Regions from separate parts of the Homo sapiens genome. Here all the other regions are linked to region 4. The links are contacts of gene promoters, found by promoter capture Hi-C in human tissues and cell types (Jung and others, 2019). All regions are on one chromosome and are shown on one strand. The core of a region is centred on a gene start or on the middle of the fragment in contact, and the rest is flanking DNA. Distances in the headings are between cores, read along the strand shown. Region 1 overlaps FSTL4 (follistatin like 4). Region 2 has its middle 40 kb from the start of SAR1B. Region 3 has its middle 45 kb from the start of CTB-49A3.2. Region 4 holds the start of VDAC1 (voltage dependent anion channel 1).

The links. Contacts are between HindIII fragments. The study calls those that stand out against the background at their distance.
Region 1: a fragment that was not itself captured here is called in contact with the fragment with the promoter of VDAC1 in region 4 in 1 of the 25 tissues and cell types used here (aorta).
Region 2: a contact is called between a fragment that was not itself captured here and the fragment with the promoter of VDAC1 in region 4, in 1 of the 25 tissues and cell types used here (thymus).
Region 3: a contact is called between a fragment that was not itself captured here and the fragment with the promoter of VDAC1 in region 4, in 1 of the 25 tissues and cell types used here (dorsolateral prefrontal cortex).

What each region holds. Positions count from the first base shown.
Region 1 is chr5:133,424,366-133,429,229 of GRCh38, forward strand. All of the region lies in intron 3 of FSTL4 (follistatin like 4), which reads right to left. It overlaps MIR1289-2 (microRNA 1289-2), which reads right to left and starts at 3,341; the gene lies at 3,231-3,341. The HindIII fragment of the contact is 7,315 bases long and covers 1-4,864 here.
Region 2 is chr5:134,590,527-134,595,338 of GRCh38, forward strand. No RefSeq gene overlaps it. Among named protein-coding and RNA genes, the nearest start is that of SAR1B, 40 kb to the right of the region's middle. RefSeq lists enhancers at 1,013-1,072, 1,893-2,486, 3,953-4,092, 4,568-4,637. The HindIII fragment of the contact is 7,095 bases long and covers 1-4,812 here.
Region 3 is chr5:133,160,787-133,165,387 of GRCh38, forward strand. No RefSeq gene overlaps it. Among named protein-coding and RNA genes, the nearest start is that of CTB-49A3.2, 45 kb to the right of the region's middle. The HindIII fragment of the contact is 5,969 bases long and covers 1-4,370 here.
Region 4 is chr5:134,003,119-134,007,689 of GRCh38, forward strand. VDAC1 (voltage dependent anion channel 1) reads right to left here and starts at 1,857. Exons shown (of 9, transcript NM_003374.3): 1 at 1,777-1,857. RefSeq lists enhancers at 581-630, 641-690, 2,341-2,460, 2,531-2,590, 2,631-2,700 and silencers at 921-1,960, 2,021-2,080, 2,121-2,170. The HindIII fragment of the contact is 12,628 bases long and covers 1-4,571 here.

The DNA.
Region 1 (4,864 bases), core at 240-2,739, 580 kb before region 4:
CAGAGCACTTGAGAGAGACACAACCCGAGGGGACTGTTTTGGAGATGGGAGATAAAAGGAGATGATATTTGTATTCAATACCTTAGAGACAGGAAATGACATGTTTTGTGAGCTTTGCATTTCCGAGCAGTCTCTCAGATGATGGTCTTTAGAATGTCCAGGGGCACCTGGGTTCTCTACGACTTCCCTGGTTGTGCTGTCCCACGGCGTCTCCAGGTTGGTGACACTCAAGCACTACAGGAATACGTGATGGTGTCCTCTGAGAGGCACTATGGCACATCTCAGGCCAAGGGAAGGCTGGTCTGGACAGGGAAGCTGGCAGTGACCATGTGGTCACTAGGCAGCATTCCCATAGCTGGGCTCACTTCTAAATACCACGTAAAGGAGAGAGTACTGGCTTTGGAGTCTAACGATCTTGAGATCTTGAGTCTAATTCTCCCATCTGGAAAATGGGAGAATAAGCCTTTCCCTGAAGCCCATAGAGAGAAGCACATGCCATAGTGAAATGTAAGGCACTTAGCATGGTTCCTGGTGCACAGTGGGTGCAGAAAATGCTAGGCCTTTCCTCCCTTCCCATCAAATAGATAACCTAATCAAAAGAAAATCTGTAAAAACAAAACAAAAGATATAGCAACATTTCTTATGCGCATCAGACTGGGTCTAACTATTAGACTGTGGATTAATCTATTTCAAGTGAGTATTGATAGAAAAGATCTACGGGCTCACATGTATTGCACATTTATTATGTTCCAGACACCATAAGGACTTGATGTAGATTTTGTTACAGATTTTTGACAACACTTTATTATAAAGTTTTTAGTTTGTAAATCTTTTTAACATTAAGATTTCTTCAAAGTGACCTAAAAAAAAAGGTACCTTAGCTAAGTCCGAGGTTTGTCTTAAGAGCTGCTCTCAAGCTGTTTGAATGGCCTGTCCCAGCCTGGTCTTGTCTCCCAGCAGGAGACCCAGAGCAAGTCAGCTAGAGGCTGGCAGAGATAATGCCATCCCCAGGTGGCAAAGCTGTTAACCGCGCATCGCCAAACCCTCCAGGCCTGAGGTTTAACAATGCCCCACAGCAGGAGTTGTGCTGAGATATTAAGAAAGAGACAAAAGGGAAAGCTATGTCGAATGTGAGTTCAAATTGTTCAGCAGAAAACCTGGAAAAGTAATTAGCAGACTCTTGTGAGGAAAGAATTAATGCCCAACTGACCTCCCAAGACTCTGTAATATCTGAATTTCCACTGTTGGATATTCATTTCTTTGAATAGCCCTTCTGGGTTCCTCTCTGAAACTCTACATTTGAACTTTAAAGTTAAAGCATTAATTAATTAATTCACTCATTGAATAATTCTGTGTTCCTACTGTGGGTGAGATGCTAGGTCCTGGGACACAGCAGAGAATAAGGGAGATATGGATCCTGCCCTCAAAGCTTATGATCCAGTTTCTGGCTGTCAAGTGTAGCCGTGTGGTTTGTCCACTGCACGATAAGCCAAGTGGCGGAAGAAATCCAGAAGCTGGCTGGGTCCAAAGGGAGAACAGGGACATAGGATAAAGAGCCTGCATTTGAAGTTAGGGTGAGGAGAAGGGAAGCAGGAATGACGTGGGGGGCTCTAGTCTTCCTGTCTAAGTGCTGGGGACCCCCCCTGAGCAAGACCCTTCTCTCTTGGCCTTGGTCTTCTCTTCTTCCACATATGGGGAGCTGGAAGTGGACCAGTCTTGACTTCCTCTGTAGCTTTCACCTTCCTCATTGCCCCAACATCCCTGAGAGTGTGCCTTTGATCTCAAAAGAAGTCATCTTTCCCAGTTAGGAATTTTTAAAGCACAGAGTGTGCTAGCAGAAGACAGAGTGTTGTCCTTCAAGCCTGACCAAAGGAAAGTCTTTGCCATGAAGGGAGGACACAGGGAGCAAAGGATAGCCGGGAGTCTGGGGAGGTGAGAGGGGGAGACCTGCCTCCGTGGCTCTCCTGGGCTGTGCTGACCCGCAGGACCAGTGGCTTGGGTCTCCTGCATAATGAGCCCATGTCACTTCATGGGGGTTCTGGGCAGATGAATAGCGCTGCCCTGCCCCCTCCGCACTCCCTAATTGGAGAATGTCATGAAGTTGGTCTCCAGACAGAGATCATTAGGAAGAGACTAACAATTCTGATCCCTCATAACGGAGCTCTCATGGCCAATTAGCAGCAGAGGAAACTGAACTGTACCGTGGGTTGGGGAATGATCAATGCCGGCATTGTGCATTCTGGCAGGGTGGATCACTGGGTGGCTGGGGAGTGGAGGCAAAAGTAGTAGAAGCGGTGGCAATGGGGGCTATGGAGGAGCAATCTCTGGCTGGAGGCACAAGCCTCAGTCCTGTTATTTCCCAGGGAGACAGTCAGCCAGTTCTGCTTTAATAATGCACTGATAGAAGCTCCAGTTCCCTTCTTTAGTTTAGCAAACACCACTGCTACTGCAATCCAGAACCCAAACCAGGCTAAAATGTTTCCTTTTTCCGAAAGTCAGCACAAGTTCTGGGAGGAGTAAGCTGAGATTTCAGGTTCTAAAACAACCTAAATCTCAGCATGTCTTATGTTCTCAGTGTTCCGTCTCTCAAATGCCCAACGGCCCAGAGGAATTTTGGTTTATCAAACCTTGAAATACCCCAACATTCCTCACAGTACTCTTCCATCCTATGAACTAGCTCACACTGCCCCCCAAGACTACCCCAGCAATGTCACCACTGGAGAACACACAGGCTCTGGAGTCAGGCAGCCCTGGGTTACAATCTCACTTCAGCTGTGTGACCTTGGACCAGCCACATAACCTCTCTGGGCCTCAGTTTCCACACCTATAGAGCATGGATAACAACTACTATCTTCCCCAAGGACGAGAGACGGCTCATGTGCAATGCCCAGCACAGTGTGGGCCACCAGAAGGTGCTCAGTAACTGGAAGGGTGCCTTGTTTTATCAGCTCCCACAGCTGAGCCCTGTTCTCAAGGAATGAACCCAGGGGCCTGAGAGGATGTAGCCCCTTTTGGCAGTAGAGATATAAGAGTCCACTTCCGAGGCTTGCCTTTCTCAATTTGCAGGGCTACTGCCTTCTCCAGACCTCCCAAGCCCAGGAAACTGTTGGTAAGTGAAAGGGTGAGTGAGTGTGTGTTGCGGGGGTGGGAGTTCTACACAACACAGGCGGCTCTCCTCATGAGTGCTTCCAGCAATTAGTGCACGCAATGGCGGGGGGAAGGGCGGGAATGGCGGGGGCGATAGGGGTAAAAATGCAGATTCCTGGACTCCACACCCAGTGACTCTGTTCAGTAGTTCTGAGGCAGGGTCTAGGAATGTGCCTTTTTAACTAGGACCGTGGCTGAGTTAGGTTACAAAGCTGTGGTCTTAGATCACATGTTGAGAAGCCCTACAGGGTTGCAACTTCTGCCATCAGGACAGACAAGGCTTTGGTTCCTTCTCAGAGGTTTCATCTGGCCATGTGGCTCCAGAGAAGTGTGAGGGTTTGGGTTTCTCTGGGGAGGTGCACACAGGACCTTTGCTGTCTATAGTTGCGCCTTCTGGAAACATTGGGCAGGCACAAGGGGTGAGAGGTGGAGCTGGGGAGGCAGCTATTTCAAGAACTCTTCTGGAGTCCCTAATGGGAGAAAAATCACACTCTATACCCAGATATCAACTTGTGTGAGTTGGGAGGTCACAAGTAATGTGTGAATAACAATACCTCAGGTGTGCTGAGTTGGAAATGAGTTGTTTTATGATAATGAATTTCAAGTGGATTTAAATTTATCCCTGTAATAATATCATTGCCATACACTTACACGATGAAAAACTGTGTGTGTATAAAAGGGATTGCAGCCAATGTGTGGAACTGGCAGGACTCTTGATCTATTTTACCTGGGTATGCCAGACAGATGATGTAATCTGTCATACGCATCATGGCAGAAGTAGGGCCTGCTGCACCATCTGGGCTGTGATCTCTGACTCTCTGGCTTGCCCTAGCTGCCCTAAGCTGGTGCCTTACTAAGCTCACCTTGCTGCCACCTCCAACTGGACCATGGGTAGGGGCTGCCCAGGGCCTTGCTTGACATGCTTGTGGAGGGTACCCTGTCCAGAGCCAACAGGACACGAACAACAGAAGGGTCAGGTCCATTCTGGGTTCCAGCTATCCACTGTGAGGCATCTGCTAAGGACATCCTGGGCATGAGACCTGTGTGAACTGGCACCTGTGCTGTTCTCAGCATGGCAGCAGCTGCAGAGACCGAGGCCCTGAGCACCAAGTGGTCACACAGCACAAGTGACTGCCCAGGTGCAGAGGTGCTGCATATAGGGGCTCCTGTCCTCACTCTCTGCAGAAGCAACCTCGACTCCAGATATTGAGGGCTCTCTCATCCTGGATGCTCCTTGCTCTATGGCCACTAAACTTAACATGACTCTTCCAAAGGGTTTTTCTGTTAATTGTCAATGCCAGCCCAGGGCTGGCATGTAGTGGGCATGCAATGCTTCATTGTTAAGAGTAAACTACGACACACAGAGGCACCATTTCCGTTATGGTGTGAAATGCAAATGTCATCATCCTAAGCAGCTTCCCCAAGTCTCAGCTGTAGTTTCCAGAAATAAGTGACTGCCTTCTTATTCACATGCAGGAACTTCAGTTATTTCTTCCTGGCCCTAGTAGTGGGATCCTAAGGATAGCATAAATCAGGGGAAGAAACCCAACACTAAAGTTTCCATAGAGCATTACCCTGTGAAAGCCTCTTCTCCGGAGGGCCCTAACCTGGGTCCCAGATGTGGTTAAACTGATTTGCCCCTCGTTGGCTCACATCAGCAGAAATCTGCTCGTAGGACGCCCACAGCCCATGGAATCATGAATGCCGAGGAGCTGCC
Region 2 (4,812 bases), core at 718-3,217, 590 kb after region 4:
TGAACGAAGAATTGAACAAAACACACAAAGAAACAAAAGAACAAAGCAACGAAAGAAGCAATGAAGGTGATTTACTGAAGTGGAAGTACACTCCACAGAGTGGGAGCAGGCTCGAGCAAGCAGCTCCAGAGCCCCATTGCAATGTTCTTTAGGGTTCTTATTAAACTAAAAGAATTTGGTGGCTGGTGGATTAGAGCTCACGCCTGTAATCCCAGCACTTTGGGAGACCCAGGCGGGTGGATCACTTGAGGCCAGGAGTTCGAGACCAGCCTGGCCAACATGGTAAAACCCAGTCTCTACTAAAAAAAAAAAAAAGAGAGAGAGAAAGAAAGAAAGAAAAAATTAGTTGAGCATGGTGGTGTGCCTGTGGTCCCAGTTACTCTGGAGGCTGAGATGGGAGGATTGCTTGAACCCAGGAGGCAGAGTTTGCAGTGAGTGGAGATCAAGCCACTGCAATCCAGCCTGGGTGATAGGACAAGATTCTGTCTCAAAAACAAAAAAAGAATTTGGTAACACTCCTAGGTACCCTTTAAAGGCCTCCAGTTGGTTATACCCTATGACAGATTGGCCAGCAACTAATCAGAGGCTGAAGTGGATACTTGGCCCGTGGTCAATCAGAGGCTGAAGTGGAAATTTCTGTCTTGTTATCACAGGAGTGAGGATGTGGCCTGTATGCTGCCTAATCTTGCCTAGAAGTGGCTGCACCTGCTGTTCTTTTGCTTATGCCTTGATCCTTGGTGACCCTAATTCCCTATTCTCCTATCTCACCAGGGCCCTTTAACTTGAGGCCAGCTGGGTGAGGTGGGGCTAGCTGGCAGATGGGGCTGGGTGAGCCTCCATACACAACTTGGGCAGAGGAGAGAAGGAAGAAGCTTTATCCACTCAGCTTGTCACCTTTGCACCATCAGAACACCATTGTGGCGGCTGACTCATCTGTCACCAGGTGAGTGTGCCATTAGGAGCACAGGATTAGTCATGGGCGTGGTCATGGGGTGAGATGCCAGGTCGGGCTGGGATAGTGACACGGTGAAGCATGGAGCAGGGCCTAGAGGCACTGGAAGAGAAGAGGAGGCATCCCTCCTCAGGCTTGGAAGGGGGCCTAGGCCTCCCTGATAGGGATGGAGGCCTCTGTCTTTGGGATAATGCTCAAGTGGGTTGCCTCGGGTCTAGAGGTTTGTATTTAGTGGGTGGTCCCCCTTATTCTTCCCTCCATTCTCAAACTCCTGACTTTAGGTGATCCGCCCACCTCAGCCTCCCAAAGTGCTGGGATTACAGGCATGAGCCACTGCTCCCGGCCACTTCCCTCCATTCTCAATGAACATTAAGCAACATGTGGCCATTCAAGTCTAGAGAATTTATCCATGAATCCACCACGAAAGAGGAAGCTGCTAGAAATGGAATTTTGTTGTCCTTGGGGTAATGGAAAATTATTGACCTGCATTCTGGCCCTTAGTTTCCTCATTTGTTAATAAGGATGAGAGCTCCTGCTGGGCCCACCATGCAGGGTGGCTGAGAGGCTCAAAGAGGACATGGGTATGAAGTGGACAAAATGAGGAGCCACAAAAGGTGTTAGAGGAGGGCAGGACACAGTGGTACAGGAGAGCACTCACAGACTTGCTGACTGACCAGAGGCAAGGAGGCCAGAGGGATTTGTTTACCAACTCTCACTTCCCGGATTCTGAGCCGGTAAACCCTGTTTGTTTACAAGTTTTCACGGGCCTCCCTAAGCCCAACGGTGGTCTGGGGTCAGTTCCACTCTAGGGACTGGCCCGGTGCAGCCCCTAGATGGGGGCTGGTTGCAAACAGCTGATGGTCAGAGAAGCCGCTTCAGTCACATATCTGACAGTCAGCTGCCTGGGCCAAAAAACCACACAGCTCCCCAGCCTTGTGGGTTACTCAGGCCCCTTGTCAGCTCTGTGATCATCCTTCACACCTGAAAGCTTGTAACCCGAGAGGCTAGAGGTAGTTGAATAGGACATCCCTCCTGTGCCCTCACCTCACCCCTTTTGCAAAAAAGGAACATTCCATTGCTAGGGATTGAATGTTGTGATTAACATGAAACTCAGAAGAACAGCCAAGGGTTTGTAGAAGCCAAGGAGGAAAAGTGACTCAGCAAAATAAACTTTCACCTGTGGGTACTCTGAACTGCTATTTTGGGACTCTGGGAGCCTGCCTGGTTCTAGTGCCTGTTGCTTGGTATCAAAGCATTGCTCCCTAAATGCCAGCTGGAATATTCATGCCCATTCCTTACTGAAGTAGCATCCTAGGAGGCTTGGGAGGGAGGTCTGATGGATGGGCCTTATCTCTGCCACATCCAGGTAAGAGTCACAAGTGAAGCCTGGGCAACCTGGCAAAACCCCATCTCCACAAAAAGATACAAAATTAGCTGGGTGTGGTGGTGGGCATCTGTAGTCCCAGCTACTCAGGAAGCTGAGGTGGGAGGATAGTCTGAGTCCAGGAGGCTGCAGTGAGCTGTGATCATACCACTGTACCCCAGCCTGGGTGGCAGAGTGAGACCCTGTCCCAAAAAAAAAGAGTCTCAAGTGAGCCAATGTCACAGGAGAAGTAGACATGCCCCCGTAGAGGCATCGGGGATCAGAGGGGACTCTCAAGAAGAGAGTAAATCTTAGGGATTCCTCTCCCCTCCAGGAATACTTCCATCCAGTCAAGAAAGGGCATGGGATTGGCACTAACTTGCCCCGTCAATTTTAACTCCTTCATGGCCCTCATCTGAAAAGCCTCATGTGGTTTGTAGGACCTCTGAGTTTGGGGAGAGTGTGAGAGCTCATTTCATCCAATCACTATCCCATGGAGTTCCCCTCTCTAGGAGAGACTGTTTGAATTCCAACAACAGCCCATCATTTGAAAGGCAACCCACAGCTGTGTTAAAAAGGTCTCTCTTAAATTCAATTGTAATGTCTCTTTGACACCTGACATTTCTATTCACAGGTCCTCTTGAGTCCTGGAGTCATAGATGAAGTCCAATTCACTTTCACTGGGCAGTCTTTGGACTATTTCATGACAGTTAAGCTACTCTGCCCACTTGATTTTTCAAGTTCAGTACTTTCCTAGGGGATTAAAACACAGGGTATTCTCCCTTCTTCATCCATTACACTTCTGCTTAATGGATGAAACCACCATACTGCTCCACTGTTCAGGCAAAGACAGTCCCAGGTCAGAGGTTTTTTTGTTTTGCTTTATGTTTTTTTGAGACAGGGTCTTGCTTTGTTGCCCAGGCTGGAGTGAACTGGCATGACCATGGCTCACTGCAGCCTCTACCTCTCAGGCTCAAGTAATCCTCCTGCCTCAGCCTTCTCAGTAGCTGGGACCACAGGTATGCATCACTATGCCCAGCTTTTTTTTTTTTTTTTGGTAGAGATGAAGTCTTGCTATGTTGCCCAGGCTGGTCTTGAACTTCTGGCTTCAAGTGCTCCCCCAAATTTGGCCTCCCAAAGTGCTGGGGTTACATGTGTGAGCCACTGCACCCAGCCTTCTTCTTTTTCTTTCTTTTTTTTTTTTTTAAGACGGAGTCTTGCTCTGTCACCCAGGCTGGAGAGCAATGGCGTGATCTCAGCTCACTGCAACTTCCGCTTCCCAGGTTCAAGCCATTCTCCTGCCTCAGCCTCCCAAGTAGCTGGGACTACAGGCATGTGACACCATGCCCAGCTAATTTTTGTATTTTAGTAGAGACGGGGTCTCACCATGTTGGCCAGGCTGGTGTTGAACTCCTCACCTCAAGTGATCCACCCGCCTCAGCCTCCCAGAGTGCTGGGATTACAGGTGTGAGCCACTGTGCCTGGCCGCCTTCTTTTTTTTTTTTTTTTTTTTTTTTTTTTGAGACTGATCTCACTCTGTTGTCCAGGCTGGAGTGCAGTGGTGCAATCATAACTCACCACAGCCTTGACCTCATGGACTCGAGCGATCCTGCTGCCTCAGCCTCGCAAAGTGCTGGGAATACAGGCATGAACCACTGCACCTGGCGGAGGTCAGAGTGTCAGAGAAGTGTCAGAGAGGGGAGGGGTGCTGTCTCGGCTCCCCGCTCCTAGCTCTCTACAGTGAGTCCCCATCTCCACCCCCAGGGCCCAGCCAGGCTTTTTGTGCGTAGGCAGCAGTGCCTGCTGTTTCAACAGCTTCATCTTGTGTTTAATCTTCCCCATCATCAGTACCACACATTTTGGTACACATGCTCAACAGTCATTTTGGCATTTTGAGGACACATGTCTGTCCAGATGGTCTCAACTTCAAATAGTCTATCCTGATCTGATGGCCCCATAAGCAGACTATCCTGGGGGATCACTGGCTTCTACCTTGGCTTGGAAAACATGGCCATATGTCATAAAATTGTTGGTGTTGGAATTGGTGTTAGATAGTTCAGGCCTCATGCTCTGTGGTCTTACCCTCCACTCTCGCCTCCTTCTAGGACACTCTCCACGTGACACCTCTTCAGGCACTGAGCTCTACCAGCTCCCAAGTCATTGTGTGCTCTTTCCTGCCTCCACACCTTTGTCTTTGCTGGTCTCTCTGCTTGGAATATCCCCTCTTGCCCCTTCTCCACTAAACCAGTTTGTACTCCGAGATTCAGCTCTGGTGCCCCCTTTCTATAAACCTCCTCCATAATGTGTGGAAGCCTTCTCCTTTTGCCTTCCATTCTGTCTTGGGCAGATCTCTGCACATTTTCTTTATGCCATGCCAGCCACCAGCAGGCAGGTGTTCAGGAAGTGCCTGCTGAGTGGCTGACTAAAAGGCAGGCAGACAGAAAGTGAGACCAAGCACCCAAGCCAGAATCTAACACTTCAGCACAATTGGTTAAGT
Region 3 (4,601 bases), core at 136-2,635, 840 kb before region 4:
TATTATGATACCTTACAAGTATTTGGAAGTTTTATTCTTAGTATGTAGAATAACAATGCATCTTGTAATCAGTGTTGCTTTAGGTTTGATAAAATGTGATACAAATGTTTATGAACATTCTGCTTGGACTGATTGCTGAATCAGTTTAACCATTTATACTCTCAGCACTGCTTTCCATCCTGCCAATAATTGGTTCATAGTTAGTTTTTCGTGATTTGCCAACATGATAGATGTGAAATGGTATCTCACTGCAATTTTAAATTTACTTTTCTGATTATTAGTTAGGTTAAACATTGCTTCATATTTCTTGGCCATTTAGGTTTTCTTTCTGTGAATTATCTGTTTAGATCTTTTCCACATTTTTAGGGTTGTCTTTTTCTTACTGATTTGTAGAAATTCTTTATATATTATAGACACTAATCTTTTGTTGGTGTGTTGCAAATATCTTCTTCCATTCTGAAGTTTAACTTCTTTGTTTGTAGTGTTCTTTATTATACAGATAATTTGAGTTTAATGGAGTTGAATTTTAAAAATTAATTTTTTAATGGTTTGAAATTTTTGTGTCTTGTCTAAAATATTCTTCACTACTGTTACTACTAGTAGTAGCAGCTACTATTTCTCCAACAGTTACTATGTGCCAGGCACTGTTCTAAGTGTATTAACTAATTCAATTATCATAACTCTTTTGGATAGTTTTTATTATTAACCTTACCCTACACCTAGAAAACTGGGTGAACCAGTTTGTGCTAGGTTAAATAATGCACCACCCCAAAGATAACCACATCATTATTCCTGGAACCTGTGGATATTACCTAAAGGATGGATTTTATATGGCAAGATATATAATTGAGGTGAAATTATCCTGAATTATTTGGGTGTGCCTCCAGTGTAATCATAAGTATCCTCATGAGAAGGAGGCAGAGGGAGGTACCACACAGTAGAAGAGGAGAAGGCAATGTGGCCACAGAGGCAGAGGTTGGCATGATGCAGCCACAAGCCAAGAAATACCAGTACCACCAGGAGCTGGAAGAGGCAAGGAACATGGAACATACTTTCACATTATTGTCTATGGTGTTTTTCCTCTAATGAATTGCCTGTCTATCCACTTTCCCGTTGGGTTCTCTTTTTTCCTGGGAGATCTTCATATAGACTGGATACCTAGTTATGTGTATGATACATACATATTTTCCAGTGTGTAACATGACTTTTTGTGTTGCTTATGTTGTTTTTTGCCAAAATTTTACATTTTGATTTAGTCAACTTTATTATTTTTTCTTTATATACATCTGTTTGTGATTATTATGTATGTTTCTAGTGACAGGGTCTCATTCTGTTACACAGGCTAGAGAGCAGTGGCCTGATCATGGCTCACTTGAATCCTAGTCTCAGGCGATCCCTCCATCTCAGCCTCTGGAGGAGGTAGGACTATAGGCACCCATCACCACAACCAGCTAATTTTTTTTTTTTTTTTGAGACAGAGTCTCGCTCTGTCACCCAGGCTGGAGTGCAGTGGCACTATCTTGGCTCACTGTAACCTCCGCCTCCTGGGTTCAAGCGATTCTCCTGTCTCAGTCTCCTGAGAAGCTGGGATTACAGGTGTGTGCCACCATGGCTGGCTAATTTTTGAATTTTTAGTAGAGGCAGTGTTTCACCATGTTGGTGGTCTCAAACTCCACCATGTCAGGCTGATCTCGAACTCCTAACCTCAGGTGATCCACCTGCCTTGGCCTCCCAAAGTGCTGGTGCGAGCCACCACGCCCTGCCTAATTTTTAAAGTTTTCTGTAGAGGTGGGGGGTCTCACTGTATTGCCCAGGCTGGTCTTGAACTCCTGGCCTCAAGAGATCCTCCTGCCACAGCCTCCCAAAGCACTGGGATTACAGGTATGAGCCACTACACTTGGCCTGTTTGTGATTTAAGAAGATTTTCTCAAACTTTATATTGTCTTCAAAGCTTTCACTTTTTGGAATATTTAGGTTCTTTCATCTATCTGGAATTTAATTTTGAGAATAGTGTGTAGGGGCATAATTTTATTCAAAAATAGAGAGTCAGTTGCCTCAATACCATTATTAACACATCCAGTTTTCTCCCACTGACTTGAAATGATGCTATCTACACATGAACCCATTTCTGAGCTCTCAATTACATTTCTTTGGTCCATCTCTCCTTACTCTAAAACCAAACAATATTAATACCTGTAGTTTCATAACATGTTTTGATACTTGGTAGGGCAAGTTCTCCTCTTTTCATTTCAAAACAGTTATTTACTACGTTCACATATTTACATTTTCGTGTGCATTTTAGAATCACCTTATGCAAGTCCTTGCAAATCTTGTTTTGGTATTGGGATTGTGTTTGCATTGAATGTTTAGATTATTGGAAGGGAGCTGAAAATGTTATTATAAAAAATCTTACTGTTCTCGAAAATGGTTTCTCTCTCCGGGTCATTTTCATTATTGTTCAGTTAAGTCTTACAGTTATACTATTTCTTGCACATTTCTTATCAGGTGTATGCCAAGGCACATTATGGTACTGATATCTTTCCTTTCCTACTATAAAACTGGTTAGTGCTAATATATAGGAGCAATTGATTTTTTGCTATATAGAAGTTTGACTTGGTTGTAGTTGTAGTCGAATTTATGATTTTTTTTTTAACTTTAACAGCTTCTAGATTTTAAATTATATGAAGGAACGTTCTCTCCCAATCATGATGTTGGATATTCACCTGTGTTTTTTTCTAGTACTTGTATGGTTTCAGTTTTTAACTTTTAGGCCTCTGATCTGTTTGGCATTTATTCCAGGGTTTGGGTTAAAGGATGGACCCAGTTTTATCTTCTTCTCCATGACTATCCTAGCGCACCAACTCCATTTTATCCCTAAAGCCTATCTTTCCCCACTGATTTGAGATACTGCCCTAATGTAAACTAAATGTTCTTATTTCTGAGTTTTCTCTTCTGTTCCATTAATCTGTCTAGTCATGCACAGTACTCTACTGTCTTAACCATAGAAGCCTTATAATGAGTTTTCATGCCTAGTAGGGCTGGGTGTGTGTGATTTATTTATTTTGGCATTTAGTGGGCCCTTTCATTCTGCAGACACATGTCTATCTTCTGTTATGGGAGGTGTTTATTTTTCTTCCTTCTTCTTTTCCTTTGCTAATTTTCTTGTGTAGTTTCTATCATTCTATTCTTTGGTGACCATTTCTGGAAGAGCTCTGGGCCTCTGATTCATTCTTTAGATGTGTTAATTCTGCAACTCAGCGCTTTTATTATCTTCTTAATATCAACAGTTCAATTTTTATTGAGACTGGTTCTTTTTTCATTGCCTGTTCTTTTTACTTAATGGATGTGGTATCCTCCCATATTTTTCTAAGTATATAAAATATTCTTATGGTAAAAGATTCTGTTCGAGTCACGCTATTGACCCTGTTTCCTTTGAGCTCTCCTGTTTGGTGAGTTTGTCTCTCCCTCATGGCGTAGACAGTCCTCAAATGTTTGGAGATCTGTCATTGTGCGCTTATTTTTAATGGAGAATCCTTTAGCGCCTGTCTGTTGCCTGTTATGATAATTGCCCTATTCAGTCACCTCTGACCCAAGCCTTCTCTAGCTCTGGGTTTCTACTGTGAGCATGAAACATCTTGTGTTTTACCATCCTTTTCTTTTCTCCTCTCCTTTCCCTCTTTCTTTTCTTTCTTTCTTTCTTATCCTGGCCAATGGCATTCCTTTGCCGCTTTTTTTTTTTTTTTTTTGTCTTTCAGGGACTTCTCATATTTTGTGGTCAGCCAGAGTGTCCCTTCTTGTTTTGAGCATGAGTATATAGTAATTATTAAAATTTTGCCCAGTATTTGAATAGATTTGTTGCAGGAGTGGGAGACTATCCTTGATTCAGTTCATCATCTTGAAACTGCAACTTCATCATGTTTTCTCTTTTCTTTCCTTTTTAAAATTTTGAAATAATTTTTTTCAGGATTCATGGTAATTTTCCCCCAATTAAAAAATATGTTGGAATATACATAACATAAAATTTACCATCTTAACCATTTTAAAATGTACAGTTCAGTGGTATTAAATACATTAATAATGTTGTGCAAAGATCACCACCATTTTTCTCCCAGACTCTTTTCATCTTACAAAAGTGAAACTGTGTACCTGCTAAGCTACTTCCCGTTAGCACTCCCTCCAGCCCCTGGATGCCACCATCCTACTTTCTGTTTCTATGAATTTCACTACTCTAACGACCTCATATAAGTGGAATCATATAGTATTTGTCTTTTTGTGACTGGCTTATTTCACTTAACATAATGGCCTAAAGGTTTATCCATGTTGTAGCATATATCAGAATTTCTTACCTTTTTTTTGTTATTGTGTTGTTGTTTTTGAGACAGAGTCTCGCTCTGTCACCCAAGCTAGAGTGCAGTGGTGCCATCATGGTTTACTCCTCAACCTCCCAAGTTCAAGCAATCCTCCCAGCTCAGCCTCCCGAGTAGCTGGGACTGCAAGGTGCATGCCACCACACCTGGGCTAATTTTAAAATTTTATTTTGTAGAAACTGGGTCTTGCTATGGGCTCAAGGGATCCTCCTGCCTTGGCCTCCCAGAGTGCTG
Region 4 (4,571 bases), core at 607-3,106:
ACACAAGAGTGCATTTACCCCCACAGACCCTTCTCAAGCACCTACTGTGTGCCAGGCAGCACCACCCCAGGCACTGAAGACAAAGTAGCACAGGGCCTCAGTGCCTCAGTCTGACCCTTAGGAGCTGAGTTGGTCCAGAGCTGGGGTGGGCAGAATGAAGGCTGGCCCTCGGTAGTCTGCTCTGGCCTTCTCCTGCCTCAGTGGAGAAGTTTAGGCAACAGAGGAGCCCTTTCCCCTATCTCCCCAGGAGAGGGGAGGCTAGTCAAGGGGACAGGGACCCCGGGCGGAACGGGCTCTAAACCAGGGTCTGCTCCTGCATTCAAGATCTCCACATGCAAACTTACTGCTCCAGCTTGACAATGTCCATTTGTAAACTTACAAGATTTTTCATAAATTAAGCTGAAAGTTACTCAATACCTGGTATACAAATGCTTGTCAATAATAGTGAAAGAATGTTTAAAAACAGGAGCTACATTTATTGAACCCCTTCCACAACGCCACGTGTAGCAAAATGGTCTGCGGGGGATGGGCTGGATTCACCCAAAAAGCCCCAAGGGTGTCAGGGTTTCTACTTAGCCCTTCTCCACACCGGCACTGTTCTAAAGGTTTCATGCTAATTAATTCATTTTATTATTCCCCAAAACTCATCGAAGGAGAGGTACAATTGCTCCCGTCCTATAGATGAGAAAACGAAGGTATGGGGACTTCCCAGCTGTGTGACCTTGTACAAACCACTAAGACTGCGGGCCTCTAATCCAAAGTCAGGCTCCGAAACAGTTTCCAGAATGCACCGCCGCATTTGGCGAATGAATGAACGACCGAACCAGTAATCACTCCTAAGACCAAGAAGGCCACATCCTTCCCCGTGGGGCCTCCTTTTCCGAGGCCAAACCTTCAGCCCAGGCCCGAGCTCCGGCCTCTACCGCCTAAGTCGACTCTCGGCCGGCGCGTTCCGCTCTAGAAGGCTCTGGCACAGGCGGGCGGTGCCGGGCGCCAGCTTCTGCGGGCGTGGGCCGGCCAGGGCGCGTGGGCCTGGGGACTCGGGGCCACGGTCGTCACGTGAGCTCATCCCCGAGGCGGCAGCGTGGCCGGCACCCGCCCGCTGGCCTGGTCCGGCGAGCGTGGGCGGCGAACGGGTCCCCGCCGGATGCACGCTGGTGGGATCCAGGGCCAGAGGGCGCCGCCGGGGAAGGTCACCTAGACGCGCGGCCCGCCGGGCCTCCACGCGGCCGCCCTTGCACTTCCGCCCGCAAGCCCGGGCCGCCTCTCGCCGCCAGCCGCAGGCGTCTCTGGACCCTCGGCCTCGCGCTCCCCAGCCCAGACCTGTTCGGCACCCGCCTGTGCGGCCTTCTCTGCCCGCCCGCTCACCAGCCAGGCCCGCGCCGGCCGCTCGCGATCCCTCCCCGCGGCCGGGCTGCCGGGGCCCCTCGCCCGCTCCTCCCTCAGCGCCTCCCTCTCAGCTCCCCAGGGGCCTGGCCCCCGCCGTCCAGGGCGCAAGGAAGCCGGGGTCCTTTTCCGCTGCGCCTACCTCAGAGGATGTGGCGGCGGGCTCGGAGGCGGCTACGGCGGGGGCTGCGACGCGGAGGCAGGGAGCCGAGCCAGGGAGCGGAGCCGAGCGAGCGGCTGGGCCAAGGGCGGGGCGGCGCGGACGGCGGCGGCGCGGACCCGCCTCCCCTCCTGCGCGCCCGGCCCGGCGCGCTCCGCCCCCAGGCCCCGCCCGGGACAGCGTCCAGGCCGGGCCAGGGTCCCCATCCCGCTAGCGAGCCGCGTTCTTACCCTTCCGGGCCCCGCTGCCCCGGCAGCAGACACAGGAGCCTGCGGGCGTGTTGCGGGCGCGCGGGAGGACCTGCGTGAGTCGGGGCACGGGGAGGCGCCGGACTGACGTGTGCACCGTGTGTGCGTGCGCAGGGACACGCGGGTTCTTGCTGGAAACCTCGGCCCCAGTGGCAGCGCTCGGGAAGGGGGAGGAGGCCTTCCGATTCTCTGAGCTGTGGCCCGGAGGTCCCTGCGCTAATGGAAGACGCGCGGGGCTCCTGGGCCTCCTGCTTGGCCTCCGCGCTGCTAGATCCCCCGGGAGTTGATGTGGCCGGCGCTGGACCCAAGCCTCGCCTGGGTGGACAAAGTGGCCCCCGGCCCCCCATCAAAGCCCGCGTGGGCCCCATCCCCCGAGGGCAGTCCCAGGCCCAGCGCGGACACTGGGCGCCTGGGGCGGCGCAGATACAGAGTAGAGGCGGCGACTGTTGCTCCCGAGCTCCGCGCTCCGGATACAATGTGTCTGGCGCCTCCGACCCGCCCGCGCGGCGTCTAGACAATCTCAGAGAAAACCCCTGTGCGCCGATTTTGCACTACAGATTAGCGATTTTCTCCTGTAGCAAAGCTACTAGCAGCCAATTTCCATGCATTTGAGAGGCAAAAAGACAAAATAAAACAAAACGTGGATTGGGTTTTGCGAGGTCCCTGCTGGGTCTCTCGGCGCGAGGAGATCACGCCGGTTATGGCCGGCCGGCCGACTGAGGGCACCCCGGGTAACCCCCGCGACCAGCCGGGGCGTGTCCTGCGGGACCCAGTTAGTGTGTGTTGAGTGAACGGTCACCTCGCTGCTAGGCCTAAGCGAGTGGTCTCGTTCACCACTGAGTGTCCCCTGTGTTACGCGCGAGGCCCACTCGAAGCAGGTTTCGAGAATTAATTCGTAGATGGACGAAGATTCTACACATCCTTCGCCTTTGATCAACAAACGTCCTGGAAGGCTTGAGGCGTCTAGGGCCCTGTGGAGGAGGTGCCGGGTTACAGAATCAGGACACTCCTCACAGCCAGCTGCGACACTATCTAAAGCAGTGGGCAACTGGGGCTACGGAGGAGGCAATCAGGACTGGCTGCTGGGAAAAGGCGGCAGATTAAAAGTGGCGACTGGAGTTGGAAAAGGTGCTCCAGTGGGATAGGGTGCTGAGGAAGAGGGCAGCTGATACAGAGTGGGAGTGGGGTGCAGACAGGTTACCTAGGCCCTGTGTAGGGGCTGGGGGAGGGGTGACTGGGAATGTAAGGAAGAGCCCCCTTCAAGATCCTGAGGAGTGTAGGACGGATTCTATGACCCTCCCAGGCGCACGAGTTGCCTGGGAACTCTGGGCTTCCCAGCCTGGTGGTCCCCACCCCGCACACTGAGACTGGTGGGCAGGGGGAGGACAAGAACTCAGGGAGGCCGGGCGGGACAAGGCGGGGCTCCAGGAACCCCACAGGGCTAGGAACAGATGCCGGTGCAACCCAGTTTTGAGGCTGGGAGCAAATGTCGAAGGGCTTCCTCCCCTCCAGCGCCACCTCTCAACTCCGCTTTAAAGAACCAATCTGGGCCGGGTGCAGTGGCTCAAGCCTGTAATCCTAGTACTTTGGGAGGCCGAGACAGGCAGATCACTTGAGGCCAGGACTTCGAGACCAGCCTGGGCAACATGGCAAAACCCTGTCTCTACTAAAAATACAAAAACTAGACGGGCGTGGTGGCGCGCGCCTGTAGTCCCAGCTACTCAGGAGGCTGAGGCACGAGAATCGCTTGAACTTGGAAGGAGGAGGCTGGAGTCAGCTGAGATTGAGCCGCTGTACTCCAGCCTGACTGACAGAGTGACATTGTCCCCCCCCCCCAAAAAAAAAAAACAAAAAAAAACAACAACTTGGAAAGAGTTCTTCATGGCCTCTGCTACCCTGGGCCCCTTCGCCAGCTCCCCTAGGTGCTAGTTTCAGATTAACCACTCACTTAGTGGCTGCGTGACCCAGGCAAGAAGGCTGGCCTCTAAGAGCCTCAGCTTCAGAGTGTTGGTGTAAGTTTAAAATGGGACACATAAAGAGTAGGCACTCGGCCCCGTGCAGTGGCTCACTCCTGTAATCCCAGCACTTTGGGAGGCTGAGGCGGCTGGATCACCTGAGGTCGGGAGTTCGAGACCAGCCTTACCAACATGGAGAAACCCCGTCTCTACTAAAAATACAAAAATTAGCCGGGCATGGTGGCACATGCCTATAATCCCAGCTACTCGTGAAGCTAAGGCAGGAGAATTGCTTGAACCCAGGAGGCGGAGGTTGCGGTGAGCTAAGATCTCACCATCACACTCCAGTCTGGGCAACAAGAGCGAAACTCTGCCAAAAAAAAAAAAAAAGAAAAAAGAGTAGGCACTCATCAGTAACTGGGCCAGGCTCAGAGGCACATGTGGGTAATCCCAACTGTTTGGGAGGCCAAGGAGGTAGGATGGCTTGAGGCCAGGAGTTCGAGGGTGCAGTGAGCTAGCATCCCACTACTGCACTCCAGCCTGGACCACAGAGCAAGTTCCCGTCTCAAGAAATAGTATTAGTAATTTTTTAAAAAACAAAATCAGCTGAGATCTGCAGGTGCCATAATCACTAGAATCCATTGACCCACCACAACCCTGAGGGAGAGGGGAAACCCCCTGAGCCCCACCTCCATTCCATCTGCCACAGCTGATTGGGTCAGGGTTGGGCCCCTGACCCAAGCCAGGTCAATCAGATCCTCTCTTGCAAACCTGAACTGAGAAACCCAGGGATGAGTATGGCAGAGGGGAAAATGCGGGAGC